Linked DNA regions of Homo sapiens: region 1 is linked to region 2. Evidence: promoter capture Hi-C in human tissues and cell types (Jung and others, 2019). All regions are on one chromosome and are shown on one strand. The core of a region is centred on a gene start or on the middle of the fragment in contact, and the rest is flanking DNA. Distances in the headings are between cores, read along the strand shown.

Region 1 (6,294 bases), core at 3,718-6,217, 1.1 Mb after region 2:
CGCCTCTCCGTGCACACCTCCCCGCAAGCTGAGGGAGCCGGCTCCGGCCTTGGCCAGCCCAGAAAGGGGCTCCCACAGTGCAGCGGTGGGCTGAAGGGCTCCTCAAGTGCCGCCAAAGTGGGAGCCCAGGCAGAGGAGGCGCCCAGAGCGAGCGAGGGCTGTGAGGACTGCCAGCACGCTGTCACCTCTTACTATCAAGGTACACACTAACTTGTGCTCATAAGGGAAAGGGGGATTGAGGAAGCTTCTCAGGTTTCCGGTTTAGTTTGGTTTCTTGGGAGTATAATGGAACTATTAAAACAGAGATAGGGAAGCTTAGAAGAGGAGAATGGGGCAATAAATAATAGTAATGAAATAAGATTTTTTTTTATGTTGAGTTTCAAATGCCTGCGGGCGTTCAGTTAGAGATGTCTATTAAGCTGGTCGCAGGGCTGCTGTGAATTGTTATTGAGGTTGTCCACCATCCTAGGGTGCCATTTTCATTAACTGCAATGTGAATGTTGCTCCCTACTTTATGCAGAGCATTGTTTGTGCAGAGTATTGTTATAAGTGGTGGCCATGTCATTGGTCTAAAATGGCAGAAAACGATATGAACTAGGAACAAACATTTCATTTAATCTTTAACAAATTTTTGAGTGCGTGTGATGTGCCAGGCACTTTGCTAGACACTAGGGATGCAGTGGTGAGCAAATCAATATCCTTGATCTCACTGGACTTACATTCTAGTGGAGAAAATACTTATTTGCTCATTTTACTTGCTTGTTATTTATTTGCTCATTTTATTTGCTTATTTTCTGTCTTCTCCATTAGAATATAAGTGCAATGAGAGGATTTAATGGCAGAGAGTACTATAGGCTATTATTAATACATCTATAATTAATAAATAAGTAGTCAGATGGAGAAGAACTATTCCAAGTAACTTAAAAAACAGGGAGTCCCTGAAGAAATAGCTGGTTCTAGATTTTAGACAGGAATACAAGAAGATAACCTTATAGTATATTCTTACTCCAGAAAGCAAGTGAGTTACCAAAAACTACAATATTGTGTATATCCAAAGGACTCAGGAGCCAACTTGAAGAAACTCTTTATCAACTCAGATTCAGACAAGAGAGGAGCCATGACAACTATTATGGAAACAGAAAGGTTTATGATAAGAATTTGAATTTATATGAGTGTGGAAAGGCTGGGAAGGAAGCCAGAGGATCACATCATTAATGTTTTCAGCTTGAAGCGTCAAGTGGCTTGAAAGGCAAGAATTTGAGAAGAGTGTGAGAAGCTTTTAGTCTTCCTCCCACAGGCAAAATGGTAGCTCATGGAGAGGTCTGTGAAGCCACTGAATATCTGCTTCCACTTCCAACTTCCAAATTTTGCGTAAGTTACTTCTGACTTAAAGCCACATAGGGAAGGTAATTCTGGGAAATATAGTTTCCAGCCACAGAAGATGTGTCAGGAAATTCTCAAGTAAACACAGGACCCCACTCTCCAAATATGGACAACTTGAATATCAATGAAGATAATAACCGCAATTGACAAATACATCATACAATCAAATGCATGAGTTAATAATGATCTTAGAATAATGATCTGATAATTGGAAGAATGACCTTAAGTTACGCTGACTGCAAAAATAGCCTAAAGTATTCTCTTCCCTGTATTCATGTTTGTTATCATATGTTGGCAGCTCCTTCCATAAAGAGGTATTTTTCCCCATCCCTTGAACCTGGACTAGCCTTATAACTTGCTTTGATGAATAGAAGGCAGCAGAGAAAACACTATACCAGTTCTGAGTATGGTCCTCAAGAAGCCTTGTGTGCTTTCTGCTTACTCTTTTATACAATGTTGCTTTCTCATTTTTGCAACACTGCCACCACAGTGTGACAAAGTTCAGGCTAGCTTGTTGGCCAATAATAGATTACACGGAACAGAATTAAGTCATCTCAGCTGAGGCCATCCTAGACCAGCCAGCTGCCAGCTGACCAACAAAGCTCAGCTCAGAGAAGCCAAACCACCCAGCTTATTTTTAATGCCTATTAAAAAAAGTTTTATTGAAGTATAACGGATGCACAATAAACTATATGTATGTAACATGTACAGTCTGCTAAGCTTTGATGTATGTGTGCACGCATGAGACCATGAACGTGATGAACGTATGTATCCATTATCCATAAAAATTTTCTGAAGCCCCTTGGTAATCCTTCCTGCTGGTCCCTACTGGTCCCCAACCCCAGGAGACCACTTCCATGCTGTTACCACACGTTAGTTTTCATTTTCTAAATTTTGTATGTATGAATAAAATAGTATGTACTCTTCTTCTGGCTTTTACTCAGAATAATTATATTGAGATTCAGCCATATGGGAGTGCTTATCAATGGTTCATTCCATTTTAGTGCAAATTTACCTATTGATGGAATTTGGTTTCCACTTTTTAGCTTTTACAAATAAAACTGCTATCAACATTCATGTACCAGTGTTTGTATGTATATATGCTTTTATTTCTCTTGGGTGGAATGTGGAGCGTTTGGATCATAGAGTAGGTGTATGACAAACTTTTAAAGAAACTGAACTGCCTAAACTGTTTTGCAAAGTGTATGTACTATCCCACATTCCCACTATTATTATTCCCACCAGTATTAAGAGCATTCCAGTTCATCCACATTCTCTCCTACACTTGATATGATCAGTTTTTAATTTTATTTAAAATATAGCCATTCTAATAGATGTAGAGTTGTATCTCAATGATTCTAGTTTGTGTTTCCCTGATAACTAATGATGCTGACCATCTTTTCATATGCTTATTTTCCATTTGCTATTTTCTTTGATAAAGTATCTGGTCAAATCATTTGCCAATTTTTACTGAGTTGTTCATTTTCTTACTATTGAGTTTCTTTATACTGTCTGAATACAAGTTTTTTATTCTATATATAATTGGCAAATGTGTTATGCCCATCTGTGGTTTAGAGATTATAGAAATATCAGTTTTTGTGTATTGTTTCTCTATCCCATGGTCTTGATAAATTATTTGTTCTATAAATTTTTTGAAGATTTTATTGGGTTTCTATTAATTTATAATCTACTCACAACTGCTAATAAAGAGAATTTTGCTTCTTTCTTTTCAAACCAGGTGCCTCTTATTTATTTTTTCTTGCCTATTCACACTGACTACAACCTCTAGCACAATGTTGAATAGAAGTAGAAATATTTGTGATTTTTTTTCCTGATCCTAGGAGGAAGGCATTCAATCTTTCACCATTAAGTATGATGTTAGTTATAGATTTTTAATAAATGCTCTATATCTGATCGAAGATTTCTCTTCTATTTCTATTTTACCAAGATTTTAAAAAATTTTAATCTGATTACTATTTATTTATTTATTTAATTTAATTTTATTTTTTGAGACAAGGTCTCACTATTGCCCAGGCTGGAGTGAAATGGTACAGCCTCAGCTCACTGAGCCTCCTGGGCTCAAGTAATTCTTCCACCTCAGCTTCCCTAGTAGCTGGGACTACAGGTGTGTGCCACCATGACAGGCTAATGTTTTGAATTTCTTGTAGAGACTGGGTTTCGTCATGCTGCCCAGGCTGATCTCAAACTCCTGGGTTCAAGTAATCTGTCTGCTTTGGTCTCCCAAAGTGCTGGGATTATAGGCGTGAGCCACTGGGCTAAGACTAAGATTTATTTATTTATTTTTTAAATCAGAAATGGGTGTTGTCAAATCTATTGAGATGAACATACAATTCTTAAAACTTTGATTGATTCTTTAATGTTAAACTAACCTTGCATTTCTGGGATAAATATCCCACTTGAAAAACAATGGTGAGTCAGGTGGGTGGCTCACACCTGTAATCCCAGCACTTTGGGAGGCTGAGGTGGGAGGATCACTTGAGTCCAGGAGTTTGAGACCAGCCTGGCCAACATGGTGAAACCCTGTCTCTACTAAAAATACAAAAATTAGCTGGGTGTGGTGGCATGTGCCTGTAACCCCAGCTACTCGGGAGGCTGAGGCAGGAAAATCACTTGAATCTGGGAGGCAGAGGTTGCAGTGAGCCGAGATTGCACCACTGCACTCCATCCTGGGCAACAGAAAACAAACAAACAATCCAAGAAACAATGGTGCATTTTCTGTTATATATTGTTGGGTTAATTTGATAAAATTTTGTTCAGAATTTTAAACCTATGTGCGAAATATTAGCACATAGTTTTTTTCCTTGTAATGTCTTTTTTTTTTTTTTGTCATAGTAATGCTAGCATCATAGAATGAATTGGTATGCATTCCCTTATACTGTGAGGCCTGAGATTCCATGGGTTGCCCTGACATCTTCGAGCCTCCGGGGCTTCCAAGGCCTAGGTGTGTGTTCTCATGCTCTTATCAGATTTGCCCCCCACCAGTGTGAAAGGTTCTCTGCCCAGCTAGTTCTTCTATTAGCTGGACCAATTGCACTCTACCTAGTCTTCAACCTAAGAGGTTTTATTTCCCTGTCAGCTTGTAAAATTATTCAAAGAAGCCAATCACATCCTCCCATAGGAACCAGTGGTCACCCCACCCCGTTTTCCCTACATGGCCTGCCTCCCACAGTTTCTGCTTTACTCTTTTGCTGAGTGCAAGCTTCATGTGGCCATGTGGCTTGCAGTATCATCTTCCCTGGCCTGTGAGTACTGTATATGTGACTAAGCTTAATCTCTTAATTTCTTAGTCTCATCGGTACAGTGTTAGGTGTTGTGTGTTTGGCTATCTTGTTCTACTCAGGGTGGGGACTCCTCCTTAACGAACAGGGTGAGTAGGAAGTGATTAGAACATCTCTTCATTTCAGTTCTCTAGAAGAGCTTGTGAGGAATTCGTATTGTTTCTTCCTTTAATGTTCGGTAGTATTGACAGTGAAGCAAAGTGGCTTGGGGTTTTCTTTATGGGAAGATTTTAAACTATAGATTCAAATTTATTAATAGATATAGGGTTATTAGGTTGTGTATTTCTTCTTGAGTGAGCTTTGGTAGTTTCTGTCTTTCAAGATTTTTTTTTCACTTCATCTAAGGTGTAAATTTATAGGCATAAAGTTGTTCGTATTTCCTTATTATTCTTTAGTAACTGTAGATTCTTTTATGAGGTCCCCTCTCTCACTGTATCTTCTCTCTTTTTCATGATCTATCTGGCTAGCGGTTTATCAAGTTTATTGATCTTCTGAAATAACCAACTTCTGGTTTCATTGATGTTTCTCTTTCTTATGTCATTAGTTTGTGCTCTGGTATTTATGATTTCCTTTCTTCTATTACTTTGAATTAATTTAATCTTTTAAAATAGTTTCTTAAGGTGGAAGCTAAAGTAATTTATTTGAGACCTTTTTCTCTTTAATACTGGCTCTTATAATAAATTTCCTCTTAAGTAATACTTTACTGGCATTTCCCCAAAATTTGATATGTTCTGTTTTCACATTCAATACAAAATAATTTCTGACTTCTCTTTAGTTTTCTTCTTTAACTTCTAAGTTATTTAGAGTTGTATCAATTAGTTTCCACATGTTTGAGAATATTCCAGATAACTTTTTGATATTAGATTTTATCATGACTAGTGAACACATTTTGTGTGGATTTAATCCGTTTGAATTGAGACTTGTTTTATGGCTCAGAATACAGTCACTCTTGATAAGTGTTCCATGTGCACTTAAAAAGAATGTGCATTATGCTATTGTTGGATGGCATACTCTATAAATATCTATTAGGTCAAATTCTAATATTCTATATCATGCATCAGTAAACTTTTTTTTAAAGAGAAGATAGTAAATATTTTAGGCTTTAGGCTTTGTGGGCCCTAGAGGCTGTGTCAAATTATACTACTCCTAAAGTGCAAGCTGAAATCGTTTATTCAAGATGCTTTTCTTTTTCTTTCTTTTTCTTTTTTTTTTTTTTTTTTGAGACAGTCACGTTCACTCTGTCGCCCGGGTTGGAGTCCAATGGCACAATCTCGGCTCACTGCAACCTCCGCCTCCTGGGTTCAGGCCATTCTTCTGCTTCAGCCTCCCGAGTAGCTGGGATTTTGGGTGCCTGCTGCCACGATCGACTAATTTTTCTATTTTTAGTAGAGATGGAGTTTCACCATGTTGGCCAGGCTGGTCTCAAACTCTGACCTCAAGTGATCCACCCATCTTGGCCTCCCAAAGAGCTGGGATTACAGGCGTGAGCCACTGCGCTCCGCCCTTTCTCTTTTTTTAATAATGGCACTTAGTAGTATAGATTTTCCTCTAAGTACTGCTTTAGTGGTGTTTTTATATCCAATATTGGCATCTAGTGCCAATTTCCTTCTAA
Region 2 (6,864 bases), core at 2,025-4,524:
AAATGTATAAAAGTGTTTAAAGAAAGTATTTTTACCAATTCTGAAAGGGTTGAAGTAACCACAGTTGATAATTTTATTTTATATCCAGTTTTAACTTTGTTCCAATGTTATTTCTGTTTACCATTAATCATCCCTGTGGTATGGAAACTAGGAGTAAGTATATGAACTTTTAAAATAATACGTAGTGTAGCAATCATATTTTGCCATGAAAAACAGCTGATCTCCCATTAAAAGTCTTTTCTTAAGCCATGTAAACAGAGAGACCTGATAAGAATTTAATAAAGTTTTTATAAAGTTCTGTTTAAGTATATAGGCCAATTGCTGAGTCAAGTGATCATTGGAATTATGAATATCTGTTATCGTTGATGAGTCCCTATTATCACCTGGAGTCATTTTCTTGAAAGCATATAAGAGAGATATTTGTAAATACATTAATAGAAGGAAAATTCAGATTAAACATTTTCTAAGTTATTTTTCTTATCAGGGACCCATGGCATTTCAATATTGATGTTTAATGATTAAATCTTAAATTAAAAAACACATCACACAACTGCAAATGTCCTAGCAATTAAGTCAATGGCCTGGTTTTGTTCTCTTTGGTTCTCAAATGCCTAACTTCATAACAGATTGAAGAATATATTCTAGTAAATATGTTTCAGTAAATTTCTCATAAATTTTTTACAGTGTTGAAATATTTCAATCATAATATTTTAAATACAGTCTAGTATTTCATATTTCAAAATTAAAAAATTATATCAGAAAACTACATTAATACCATTTTTAAATCACCACTCCTCTCATATATACATTTTCAAAAGAATTGCTTTCTATTTAAATTACATTGTTAGAAAAATTGCACGGAAATCTTGGCACATACTTGGCATTTTCACTTTTCATGTTATTCAACTCAACTGAGAGCCCAGCTATGGATAATATTTAAAATCTCACTCAAGTATTACCTAAGTTAAATCATCTTAAATTTGTTTTAAAGCTTCCCTTCACAATCACAGGAAGGAAAAGAGACACTACCCATAGGACACAATCTGGAAGGAATAATCCCATGAATGATGGATAAACTTTCATCCAAGCAAATTAAATGCAATTATGTCAGCTTTCTGAATATATTTACCTTTCTATATCCATATGGTTAATGTGTACCTGTCTGTATAATTATATACATTATATCCCCAAACATACATGAGGTGAGGCTTAAAAGCAATTTGTATTTGATTAACTCTGTTTCATTAAATTAATACTGATTAATTTTACATAGGTGTGAAATAGTTTGGTGTCTTTTTTTTTCTCTTGCAGTTTACTTAAAGGTTGTTTTCCACAAAAATACTGACTAACAGCTACATTCTTGTGCATAATTAATTCAGTAATATCCATATCTACATAGTTCATAACCATTCTATCTGGAAAATATAATTTATCATGACAATGTGGGAATTTTAATACTATTTTTCTAGTTATTGTCAATATTTTAATATCTGCAAAGAACAAAAATTTTTAAAACATTAAGTTTAATTTATTGATATGTTACCTATTATACATGTTACCCGTTATACAAATGAATACTCTTACCTTTCATTCAGGAAGAATGATTGACTCTTACTTTCAAATAAACATTTTAATTTGGTTTGTAAAATAAAAAGTCATTTGTGGGTAAGATAATTTTCTTGATCCTTATATTTTAGAATTTTCATTTTCTTATTTAGAAAAAAGATTCAGAACATTTAATGAAAACTGCCAAATTGATAAAGGCAGTCAGTAAGGAAGGAGATAAATTACTGCTCTATTAGCAGTGAAAGTAGGTCACCGAGTATCAGGCAGTTATTACATTTAATAAAAAACTTTCTAAGTATTTTGTTTTTACTCGTGTTTTTAAAATTAAGGTACATATACAACAGTATTGGCTTGACAATATATTTTCTAAGGAGTGATGTATATAACATGATGTTTGCACATCAGTTGCTCGGTATTGTTAACTTGCAAAATAAATTGCTAAATGTTACTGTTATAAGTTCAAAATCACTAAGAGGAAATTAATGTTGTAAGTGTGGCTTTACACTAATCAATTATTTAGAGAAGTTTGTTTTACGAGTTAGTGACTGTATTCACAAGAATAGATCACAAAAGGAATACAGGAGAAAGAAAATGTATGTATTAAGTACACAATCTTATAGAACACATTGGTGTCCTTAACATTAGGTTTGCACTTTAACCCACTGAAAAGGAATTAATGCTCATTACAAGGATAATAAATAACACAACATCAAGGAAATGCCATTTGCTGCATATGAACATTCTCTCTTAATCTACTATTCAGTTATTTACTATATCTTCCCAGGAGCTATCCACTATTCATTAAATACATTCTCCTATTTGTATATAAGCCTTTAAACAAAGAGAATCCAACCTAAGCTTATTGTAATTCTTGCAAATATTACTTACGTTAATGTGGCATATGCTGCTCTTTAGAACCTGTACCATAGAGCAAACCATTGCCTGGCGGGATACACACAACTTCAACACAGCCCTTGCACCATAAACACGCACCTCCGCTTCGACAAACTCTGATTTCCCTTTAGTCCATTCATAAATGCCATGATCCCAAGTAGGAACAACCTGTCATTACCTTTAAACATACTAAAGAGTCTAGAGAGGAAGGCTGAATTTTCTTTCAAACTTCTCGGAGTACCACATGGTCATAATTAGAAAATAAAATACTGCCTTGGCTATTTGGCAATTAACATAACTGGGTTGCAACGCTGGAGGATTTTCTTTCTTTCTTTCTGCTCAAATTGGCAAACAAGGTAATTGCTCGAAATGGTGTCAGATTAAAAACACATTTTCAAAGTTTAGACCATCTAAAATTATCTCCTGAAGTGTTTTAGAAGACAGTTGGAAAAAAAAAAGGCACATCTTTCCTTCACTCTCAGAGCAAACTGCTCTATTCGGAGGCACCTTCCCGACGTGCAAGGCTTCGGTGAGAACGTGCTTTGAAGAGCGTGAGCCCCGCGGGGCAGAGCTCCGTGCGTCGCGGTACCTGGCTTACCTTCATTGGAAGGCTGCGGAATCAGTTCCCCGAAGCTGTCGAGAACAGAGCAGCTGAGAAGGAGGAGGATGGAGAGCTGACAATCCATGTTGCTGGTGCAGAGGGCAGTGAGAGGAGCATATCTCCATGAAGCATGCCACTGATGTGAGGGGGAGCGCTCTGATTGCTGGAGAAGTTACCATGCTCCGCTCGCAGGCTGATGTCAAGTTTGACACTGGAGATAAGGAGGAGTCTGGCTGCCTTTCCGCGAACCCCGCTCGGGGACTTCCCTGGGTCCTAGTGCCGTCTTCAGCGTGCGCTGAAGCAGAGCGGGATGGCACGCAGCTGGCTCTGCAGCCCAGAGCTGCTCGGGAAGGAGACCGGGTGGGAGTGGGGGCGTCGCCCATGGGACAGGAAACACAGAAGATGTGATGAGGCCGCGGTGCTGAGAAAAATGCTCCCTCTTTTGTGTTGCATGAAAAGTAGCTGTTTTATTGTTTGCTATCCATGCTCTGTTGCTTAATTCACCGAAGAAATCACAGCCTTGATAGGAGTATCATATGGCAATGTGAGTGCAAAAGGAACTGAAATGCGAGAGAAACGTGTGTTTTGAAAGAATAGCAGTCTTTCGTTAAAAAGTCAATCATGTTTGTATAATTGAAAAAAATGATTATAGTTATTCCTTTACTGTGTTCAATGTGATCATAACTCTCCATGAGTTCTTTGTGATTCAGAAAGACACTAATACACAGCCTGAATCAGAGGGTCTCTGCATTTCCACACCCAATGGTATCGTGGCTTTTTACTAGATCTGGCACAGTGATTTTCCGCGCACATAGAGCATACTTTGTTTTTTTTCAAACAGGGAAGTTGACCTTCATCATCTTACGGAAGGGAGCAAGTCTAACCCCAGCCGGAGGTCTACATTCTTTTCTCGTTCTGTGTTGTAAAAGTAATACAGATCAAACCTAAATTTCTTAATAATACATATCCCCCTCCCTCACCATCTCACATTAGGATCTCTGGGTTCTGCAAGAGAAACAATGCATAATTCACAGCTCCTCCATTCAACTTTCAACCACTGATAGTCTAATAATATTGGGGTATTCTTATTCTTTAACATTCCAAATCCAAAAGCTAAATAATAATGTCCTCGTACTTTCTCACTTATTTTACACCATGACTATCAATGGTCTCTGTTATTTCCAATCCCATTGCTGAACAACCTATTGCAATCTAGTTCAGCCAAACAATTTTGTAATTTATATTTTAATAACCAGCATCACTTATCTTTAAAATATCTCCCAGAAAATGGTTACTCAGATATCCTTCCGCCCATCTATCTCTTCTTATACTAAAAAGAAAACAAGATTATTATATTCCTCTCACAACTTCAGAAAATAAAGGTATGTTGATAATCTTAAGATCAGTGATCAATTTTAGAGCTCTTGATAATGAAACTTAAATGAAAGTTTGAAAAGCCCTTGCTAATAATGTATTCAGTCCACAAACTCAATGTTTTTAGTTAGAGAACACAATTTTCACTTGAATTTAAGTTAATGGTGCCAGATAATAGTTTGATGACTGGGGTGGGGAATTGGGGTGGATAGAAGCAGCCAGGGGAAAAGAGAGATCCTTCTCACTTTTCTGTGTATGCCATGTTACTTTGTGTCTCTAACTTCTTTCCACATTGTGTCACCAGAGGCTGCGCAATCCTCAAGTGCCAAGTCTGTCAGAATTGAAAATAATAGCAGATACTGCCCAGAGAACTTAGACAGTGGTGACTCTGGTGTTTTTTCAAAGTTCCAGCACAACACTTACATTGTTCCAAAGTTAGATACACGTTTTCTGAAACTTGAAAGAAACTAAAATCTTATTTGGAATTGACAATTTGAAAACATTTTGGAGAATCTGCCAATGTGCTGACACGCAGATCCATTGGCGCCCCTCATGCTATTTCTCTTTTCACACTTGAAAACTTAAAAACTGCTTGTCACTGGGAAAAAAGGCATTCATGTTTGCAGAAAGCTACAGGAGTGGCAAAATGAGTACAAAGCAATACCTGGCCTGAAAATAGAATGTAAATGATATAGAATCTCTAAATTGTCAACTCTCTAGTGAAAAGTAAAAGGTTTCCATTATGTAGGCGCCATTCTGGACAGATGGGGAAAAGGGAGTGATGCCAATAAGCAGAGAAGAGCAACCATAGCAGGAGTGGAAAGGATGAGGTGGGGGCAGCAGATGCAGGGAAGCCCTTATTAAGAAAGTGGTAGTTGAGTTGCAGCTTGAAGGATGGGTAGGAGTTCACTAGTAAGAAAATGATTCAGAAGGAACTGCAGGCAGGCAAGTCCAGAGAGTGTCCAAGTGAGCCAAAAATGAAAGCATTTGGCACATATGGAATACAGAGTATATTAGAGTATTTGTGGTAGGTAAAGGGCCGGAATAGGAGGAGGTATGGATTGGAGACAAAATGTAGGGAAATATTCTTCAAAGGACTGGTTGAAAACTACAGAGATTTCGATGCCACATGTCAATGATTTTACAATATATTTTAAACTAAAGAGAGACATCAAAAGCATTTCAGCAAGTAGTAAATTGATCATGTCTCAGTCTGGGGACAAAAGTTTACTAATAGCATAAAACAGGATGTCTCCACCTGGGTGCAATGCTTATTAAGAAGTGATGCCTTCTTCCCACCACAGACTTACTGGACCTAAACCTCCGAGGTTGGAACCCAGGAATCTGCAATTTCACAAAAGCTTCTCAGGTAATCCTTGGGGTCCCTGGAGAACCACTGCCCAATGTGAAGGAGGGAATATTAGAGGTAGGCCAGTTAGACTTCAGGCTATTTTTCAAGTAAGACTGAAGTGATAAGGAACTGAACTAGGATCTCTCAGAAAGAAGAAAGATAAAAGGGAAAATGAGAAGACCATTTTAGGTTAAACAAACAATACTCCCCCAAGGAAAACTGGATTTAGTACATAACTCAAGTTAGGAATTAACAGTTCCCTGGGGGAGATGGCAATTGAGAGGAAACTGAAAAGGGGCATTTTAAAGAAAAGTGAAAAACAAGATTTCTGGAGGAAATGACAAATGTCTCTATTATTAGAGTATAGATTTCGAAATTGTGTCAGCGGGTATGGGAAAGAGGAGACACCGGCTAGGAAGAAGCAGGGTCATGAAGAGTTGTATTAGCTGCTCTAAAAAGCTTGGACAGGGGTGCTGAGGGGCAAGGCAGAAATAGTTCAATTTGCATTTTAGAAAGATCAGTTTGACATATTTAAGAAAGGAGGGGAAAATGAAAGTGAAAACTCCAATGAGAAGCCAAAAGACAAATTAGGAGCCCTTTCCAGTAGGATGGCCAATACCATGTAGAGGTTACCAGTGGGGCTCTTGAATCAGAGCAATCTAGGTCACTGACCTGGCTCTGTCACTCTTAGTGAAATCCAGATAATAACAGATCCTATCTCATCGGAATGTTGTAAGGATTATATCAGATTTGGGATGGTACAGATAAAGTGTTAGCCTAGTGTCTGAATTATTAAAAGCATTCAATACTGTTTTTAAAAAATCTTGATCCAAAAGAGAGATCTAGAGAGTGTGACACTGAGCAGTAACAGTAGAACTGAAACCAGGCACATATAAGTGGGAGAAATGGCAACACTTCATAATAGATTGATTATGAGAAATTAGGCAGACGGTAGTGCGTAGAAGGCCTTTCAATTCCTGGCTTGAATGAAGAGTTAGTGAGGAGTAAGAGAGGTTTGAGGATAGAAAACAGACGTGGAATGTAAAGGTTTCTGTTTTACATATGTCTAGTTGGAAAG

What was found. The method cuts DNA at HindIII sites, captures the fragments that hold promoters and counts their contacts. A contact is called where the count stands out against the background at its distance.
Region 1: a fragment that was not itself captured here is called in contact with the fragment with the promoter of EPHA3 in region 2 in 1 of the 25 tissues and cell types used here (dorsolateral prefrontal cortex).

The regions. Positions count from the first base shown.
Region 1 is chr3:88,009,405-88,015,698 of GRCh38, reverse strand. No RefSeq gene overlaps it. Among named protein-coding and RNA genes, the nearest start is that of CGGBP1, 46 kb to the left of the region's middle. The HindIII fragment of the contact is 3,227 bases long and covers 3,354-6,294 here.
Region 2 is chr3:89,104,031-89,110,894 of GRCh38, reverse strand. It overlaps EPHA3 (EPH receptor A3), which reads right to left and starts at 3,274. Exons shown (of 17, transcript NM_005233.6): 1 at 3,059-3,274. The coding sequence starts at 3,146. RefSeq lists an enhancer at 3,293-3,432. The HindIII fragment of the contact is 4,313 bases long and covers 1,709-6,021 here.